2 separate regions of the Homo sapiens genome follow, and region 1 is linked to region 2. The links are contacts of gene promoters, found by promoter capture Hi-C in human tissues and cell types (Jung and others, 2019). All regions are on one chromosome and are shown on one strand. The core of a region is centred on a gene start or on the middle of the fragment in contact, and the rest is flanking DNA. Distances in the headings are between cores, read along the strand shown. Region 1 overlaps FHIP1B (FHF complex subunit HOOK interacting protein 1B). Region 2 holds the start of CCKBR (cholecystokinin B receptor).

Region 1 (3,651 bases), core at 741-3,240, 38 kb before region 2:
GGGGGCCATGAGCCAAGGAATCTGGTTGCTCTACAGGCTGAGAATGTTCTTCAGTTGTCAACCAGCAAGAAAACAGAGATCTCAATGCCACAACTGCTAGAAAATTAATTCTGCCAATAGAAATAAGGAAATGGATCCTGTCCTACGGCCTCCTGAAAGGAACACAGACCCCACCCCCCAAAATTTTGATTTTAGCCTGGCGAGATCCAGGTCATACATATGACCTACAAAACTGTAAGACAATAAATCTGTTTTAAGCATTAGGTTTGATAATCTGTTATGACAGCAATACGGAATTAACACAGGCTGGTTAGCCAAAATTAGTCACTTCAAGGCACACAAGGCAGGCTATATACGTTACAAAGTCAAGCCAAAGAATCAAGCTTGAAAGGACCACAGTGGAAAGGAAAGCATCTACATGTTTAACACGGGCATCCTGAAATTAGAAGAGATCTGTTCCTCCAAGAACCAGGAACCAAGAAGAAACATCCCAAGAACATGTAAGGCTCCTAAGACCAGGGGACCAAATGGGAGACTAATAGAAACAACTACTAAAAAAATGAAAGATAGTGAGTAAGAATCAAAGTTAGGATAAGACAAAAGGAAGAAACAACAGATAAAACCTCAAAAAGAAAATCAACTGTCTCTAAACATGAACAGGACAATATGAGGCCAATCATGGCCTAATTTCAGCATAATGAGGGAAAAAAAATACTTTTGGTATCTTTGTAAAATTAAAGCTTTAATACCTATTCCCTATTGGTTCCAATAAATCTTAACCCAAGGCATCTATCATGATTACTTTTTGGAAAATTTTAAAAATACACATGTCCTGAGCCTACTCCCAAAGATTCACGAAATCTGAGGTAGAGCTCAGAATCTGTTGTAGTTGTTAGTTGTCATCTTCAAAGATTCACAGACGTTTCTAAAGTATACACTTGGTTTAGAAACACTGGTTTAATCAGTCAGTCTGGAATATTTCTTATACACCCTAACTTAGCTTCAGAAACTGCACCTATACAAAACACAGCTATCCAGGAAACTGACCTGGAACTCTACTATCTAGTATCTCATTATCTAGAAGTTTTCCAGAGCTCTTAGTGATGAAAGAACTTCTATTTTAAACACATGGATCCAGGAAACTTTAACTTATAATAAAAAAAGGAAGCAAAAATGGTCCCAGAGGCAAAATAAATGCCATGAAGTCCATGGCAAAATTAATGCTTTATTCTCCTAGAGGGGCTTAAGTCTTTATAACTTGGAAACCACCCACTCCCATGTTATATATATTTCTATTTGTTAATATCCAAACTTCTTGCCATGGTCTTCCAGGTCATGCATGATCTGAATTTTACCCCTCTATTTTTATCTCATTCCCTTCTTCCCCTTGCTCACTACACCTCTAGTCTTTCATTTCCTCAAACATGTTAAGCTCTTCCCCCATTTGATGTCCTTTGCATGCTGTTCCCCTTGCTTTCCTGTTCTTCTACTTGATCAATAAGTTAACTCCTTTATAATCTCTATGTCTCAGTTCAATGTCATCTCTTCAGAGAGGTCTTCCTTGGCCACCCTATTATTTCTAAGCACTCTAGTTTTTTCATAACCCTGACCACAACTTATTAATGTGTTTGCTTGTCTGTCTTCTCTACAAAGTAAGCTCCATGAAGTCAGCAACAATGTCTACCTTATTTATCACTGTATCCCCAGCACCAGCAAACAGTATGGCACACAGTGAACATTCAGTAAAAATGTTTAGGAGGAAGGACCGAAAGTAGATAGGTGGGTGGATGAGTGCTCCAAGCTATAGTTCAAAAGCAGCAAATCCAAAGGAGAAAGAAGGCAAGCATATCAGTAGCACCTGGATCACCTACCAAAGCAGACACACAACCTAAAGTGCTCTCAAGTCACCCAAAGCAGGCCACAGAGTGATAAACAGTTTAAGAGAACTCAGGCCAATACTACATTACGAACACTGCACAGTAGCAAAACCTATAGTCATGATGAACAGCCAAAGTCATCCAGAAAAGGTGACTGTGTTCTAGATTCATCTATCATAAAAGCAGGGGAGTAGATTAAAATCTGTACCCAAAATGGTTAAAAGTTTAATGCTGGAAAGTTAATGCCACTTAATTTTGAGGTGACTGCTGGAGATACAGGCAAAAGAAGGGCAGGAATACCCTCCCAGAACAAAGGTCAGAGAAAGAAGATGGGTCATCCAGGTAAGCTAGGACAGGGGTAAGGGCCATACCCGGGAGTTACTGCCAATACGAGCAACGAGGGTGTCGAGGATGGTGTGGGTGTCATGCCGGTGCAACAACAGGAATCGCAGGAAGGTACGGAGCAAAGCAGGCTCTGAGATACTCCGTAGGAAAAGTTCCAGATAGGCGGTACTGGCGATCATCTCCTCCACAGAGGTCTGCACAAAAAGAAGGGAAAGTCTGGAAATGCACAGCTTCCCTGCACATACAGGGCCATTTTCCCTGGATTCTAAGAGAAATCAGGAGCAGACAGGGCAAAAGGGAGGAGTACTCTACCCACCGCCTCCTACGTTAGTCCTGTCACTGAGGTTACCACTGCAGCTTAGCCCCTTATATGCCTTGCCACCCATGACTCTCACCTTGTGCAAGGCAGGACCCATGACAGGCACCAGGAACCCATTATGGATATAATCAACCAACTGCTTCTGCACCAGGGGGTGAGCCACCTGTAGGAGTGCCAGAGAGAAGGGGGAGGGTTATGAGGAGACCACTGCCTGGAAGGGAGTAGAATAGTACACTACAGAGAGGCATCCTACTTCCAAGATGGAAAAATGACAGAACTCCAGGGAATATACCCCCTCCTACCTAATCTCCCAAAAATGACCAAGGGCCAGACTTTCAGTCCTACCTGAATTACTGCATTGCAGAACTCCAGGGAACTCATGAAGAGTGCAAGGGCTGGCACTCCCAGCCAGTCTTCCCGTCGCAGACAGTGCCAATCATCCCCTGGAACCTCAATCTTTCGAGGCAGTGATGAGTACAGGGCACTGAGCCCTGTGGCCAGCACCTATGAGAAGTTACCAAAAGCTCATATATAAAATACATTTATAAAATATAAAAACTGGAACAGGGGAGCTAGTAATCCAGAGTTTTGATGGGAATAGGGGTATAAGCTATTACCAAAGCAAGCATTTGCCTACCCAATGTGCCTGAAACTCACCTAGAATTCACAGGCCTACAAAGAGACTTAGTATCTGCCCTATCCATCTAAGCCCATGATTCATCCCCACTACAACTCCAGGGGGCTGCTTTCAAATCCAGGAACTGTTTCCTAGGGGAACGGGCCCTGGAACATAGCCTCTCCCCATCTCCTGGATAGGAAGGTGCTGTTCAGTATCTACACACCACACCCTACCCTCCAAGCCAGGGGGTGCTAACCGGGCAGAAGTAAGAGTGATCCGCGATGTAGCGGCCCACAGTGGGGCTCCCAGCTGACAAAGCCATGAGAAGAAGTAGGGCATCACGGGCCTGCTGGCCCAGGGTGCCCTCTCGATGCACAAAAGGGACAAGGCGAGAAAAGAGAAGAAGACGGGGAGCGGCTCCAGGCTCAGGAGGTGGCTGCAGGAAGAACTCGAGCAATGAAGGCTCCTGGGCCACACAAACACACAGCTGG
Region 2 (3,969 bases), core at 941-3,440:
AAAGACCTCAGTCAACCATATGAAGGGTTCTAGGGGTGTGAGCATCTTTCAGAGTTGTCCACCACTGGGTTGAGGGGATTAAACTTTTATACCTCTGTGCTGATCGGTCATTGGATATAGAATGCCCAAGAAAGGGAGCATAACCTTGGATGAGCTGGCTTTCTTCTGCTTAGGCAACTCCTGAAGGGTTATGACAGCTGAGGGCCATCTTTTAGGAGCACTCTCCACAGCTGGAAAATAAATCCTCCATTTTTGAAGAGGGTTCTGGGCTTTGCATCACAGCATCCAGCGCAGGGGTGAAGGAGCATAGGGGAGTAAGGCATCAATAATAATTCCTAAATTTCTGATTTGTACATCCTGGTGGGTGCACTTAACGACCATATATTACAATCATTGGCTTGCTTGGGAAAATCCCACTAGAGTAGGTGCTACTGAGGGGCAAACTATATTGGACAACTAGTGCATACCCCTAGAACTGGCATAGTTTGCTAAATAAGTGAATGTCCATCTATTTCTATTTTCACTCCCCTCTCCCTTACATCCTTTGCTCCCTTCCCTCCTCATCGTACTGTCATCCAATGTGGGAAAACTTGAGCAGGTTATCTGAGGCCCCACCTGTGCTGGAGCGGAACAAATAGCAAATCAAGCTCCTCTGGTCCAGGCTCTCTGATGGGCAAGACAGGCAGTACCAGGAGGAAGGAAAGGGGGAGCAGTTGATGACATCTCAGGCATAAACTGTCTTTCAACTCTCTTTCAATGCTTCAGCCCCTATAAACTCAGGGCTGGCTGAACCAGGTCCTCTCCAAAAGATTAATTGGATAAGGGCCTGCTGAATCCCCCATAAAGCCAGACTCCATTCTCTAATTTGCTCTTCCACTGATGCCCGCCCCCAACCTCTTACAGCTACTGCTGGGGGTCAGAAGAATTTCACATCGTATTGGAGTTCATCCGGAATCTGAAGAATGGATAGGAATCTGGAGATAGGAATCTGGAGATAGGAATCTGGGGAAGAAAAGGAATGGATAGGAGAATGCATAGGGAGCAGGGCTGAAATAGTAGAAGAGGCAAATCCTGCCCCGAGAAGCTGAACCCAGTTCAGTCCTGCACCCTTCAGCCCTGTTCCCGCTGCACCGCAGTGACCCAGTCCCCTTCTAGCCCCCTCTCGTGGGAACCTGACACCCTACACAGGCAGCTCTGCCTGCACTGAGAGCAAACAGGGAGCGTTAGCGTGTCGGGTGGGCGTGGGCGCTGCCTGGAGACGGTGGAGAAAGCCAACCTTCTCCTTCTCTTTTGCCTGCGCTGGGCCGGCGTTAGAATTATATCCCATCCTCACCTTACTCTGGTTTATCCTTGTCAGTGCTTGCCACCACCCCCAACTGCCCTCAACACTCAAGTCAGAAGCTTCCTCCCGGGAGCCCTTTTCCCTGGCAAGGCTTCCCTGGAGCCAAATCTCGGCCCCGGCCCCACCCCCACTCCCGCCCAGCTGTGGAGGGCTCCTTGGGACCCTTAAGTGCAAGCCTGAGTGTTAAGCCTCAGACAGGAGATGGAGGGTGCGGAGACAGATGCAGGAGCTACCCCAGGCCCGCAGCGAGGAGCTGCAGGGAACTACGGTAGCAATAGTGTCACGGTCACTGCGGCCACTGCAACACAGTACGGTAAATGCGGCTCTAGGCTCAGACTAAAGCATCCGCGCCTCAGCAGGTGACGCACGCAGACCTGGTCTCCAACGCCACCTCCACGTTCCCTGATACACCAGAGAAAGATGCTGGATCCGTGGCAGCCGTCTCTACCCAACCCCTCCTACCCTCCCTTCCCCGAAACCTCCCCCTACGCTGCCAATACTCTTGTCTTCAATCTCTCTCTCTCTCTCTCTCTCTCTCTCTCTCTCTCTCTCTCTCTCTCATTCCTGGGAATCGGGGGTGGGGGCGGGTGATAAAGAGAGGTGGGCAGGAGAGAAATCTCTAAGAGGAGACGGGACACATCTAGGGAGGGGGCGAGCCTGGAGGACAGTCGCACAGGGAGGGGCAGAACTCCCGAGCCAGGGAGGGGGTGCACAGTCACCTGGCGGGACAGAGGCTGGCGGAGGGACGGGAACCCAGGCGGGGCGAGCCGCGGGAGAGTGGAGGGCAGGCGCCTGGGCTGGGGGCGGGGACCAGGCGGGGCAGGGGGCAGGGAGAGGAGGGCGGCGGGAGCCTGAGCCGGAATCGCAGCGTGAGCAGGTGGAGCCGCGTTGGGAGCCCGCCGGGTCGAGCTGAGTAAGGCGGCGGGCTCGGCGGGGGCCATGGAGCTGCTAAAGCTGAACCGGAGCGTGCAGGGAACCGGACCCGGGCCGGGGGCTTCCCTGTGCCGCCCGGGGGCGCCTCTCCTCAACAGCAGCAGTGTGGGCAACCTCAGCTGCGAGCCCCCTCGCATTCGCGGAGCCGGGACACGAGGTGGGTGCCTCCCTCAGCCCCCCCCACAAGCTATTTCTCACTGTACCCCAGAACACTAATAGAGTCCCCCCAACGAGCTCCACACTACCTTCTCAAACGTCCACACCGTGCCTCTCATAGTACTCCCTCAGCCCCCAAACAGCTCCCCTCACACCTTCACCCCCACAGCCTACAACTTCATCACAGCTTCACACCACCTGGTCGGAACTCCTTCACATCCTGGTCCCCTGAATACACCTAGAGCCCCTGCTCACCCCAAAGCACAGCCCCTTCCCCAACACGCAGCCCCTCCTAGACACCAGTCAGAAGGCGAGGACCTCCTCTTGCCAACCCTGCAGATCTCCTTTTCCCTCTTACATCCAGTTCACAGAGCCACAACAGAGAAGGGAAGGAAGAAAGGAAGGCAGGACTGGGAAAAGAAGGGGGCTGGTTGAGGGAGGGAGCACTCTGGAAAGCTTGAATGCGAAGCTGAAGTTGTGATCACATCTGACACCCCAGCCCCCAGCCATCCCAAAAAAGATCCTCAAATCTGAATTAGGCTGGACACTAGGGGATGCTCCTTAGAGCTGCCTGCCTCCATTTCACTCCTTCTCAAACCCCTCTGCCTCCCTAGTTGGAGCTTTCGAGGCTCTGTGCCCTCTCTCTTTGTCTGCAAGTAATGTCTCCAGCTATCTTCCAAGCTCTCTCTCCAGCCCTAGGCTAGGTGCTGGGGGCACAGGGCAAACTAGACCCAGTCTGGACCCTCATGGCCCATAGCCAAGTGCAGAGAGAAACCAAGCAAATGGAAAAATCACAGACACAATGGAAGTCCCATGAAAGGGTCTAAACTGTGGGCACCAAAAGAACTTCACAGAGGCTAGAACCTTAGAGCTGGGTCTTGAAGTTGAGTAGGCAGAAAAGGAAGGAGTGGGATTCTAGGTGAAGGAGCAATGTTAAGCAGAAGGAAATTTTTCTAAACTCAAAAAGGGAAAGTTGGAATAAATTGTAATCCAAGTATTTATTTACCCCACGAAATAATCTATGCTTTCTCAGCCGAGTTGTTACACACTCACACTTGGATTCTGTCATTCAGCCAATATTTATTGAACCAGAGATTGTGCTAGGCAGTGGGAATGTAAGTTGAACAAAACCGACACAATTCCTACTTCACAGAGCTCAAAGTTTAATGGGCGAGACAGAAAAGCAGGGGATTGCAGCACAAAGTGGAAGAGCCTTGACAGGGAAAAGATAGTGGGAACACAAGTGGAACACCTCTAGCCCAGCCCAGCCTCCTTGAGAATTAAAGTTGGCCTCTTGAGGAAATGAGCTACAAAGTCAAAAAAATTAGGGAGGCTGGCTCTAAGCTTCCTGTTGGCAAAAAAAAAAAAAAAAAAAAATATATATACACACACACACACACACACACACACACACACACACATATACATATGGGAGAGCCAGCCAAGTGAACGGGCAGAAGAGGCAGAAAGCATCCCAAATAAAAGGACAAGATGTATAAGAAGCTCAAAGTTTGAATTCATGGCACTTTTATCCACTG

The links. The method cuts DNA at HindIII sites, captures the fragments that hold promoters and counts their contacts. A contact is called where the count stands out against the background at its distance.
Region 1: a fragment that was not itself captured here is called in contact with the fragment with the promoter of CCKBR in region 2 in 1 of the 25 tissues and cell types used here (liver).

Annotation. Positions count from the first base shown.
Region 1 is chr11:6,220,194-6,223,844 of GRCh38, forward strand. FHIP1B (FHF complex subunit HOOK interacting protein 1B) reads right to left here. Exons shown (of 12, transcript NM_001098794.2): 3 at 3,417-3,651; 4 at 2,887-3,045; 5 at 2,618-2,704; 6 at 2,249-2,416. Among named protein-coding and RNA genes, the nearest start is that of FHIP1B, 13 kb to the right of the region's middle. The HindIII fragment of the contact is 7,709 bases long and covers 1-3,651 here.
Region 2 is chr11:6,257,648-6,261,616 of GRCh38, forward strand. CCKBR (cholecystokinin B receptor) reads left to right here and starts at 2,191. Exons shown (of 5, transcript NM_176875.4): 1 at 2,191-2,432. The coding sequence starts at 2,282. The HindIII fragment of the contact is 2,957 bases long and covers 375-3,331 here.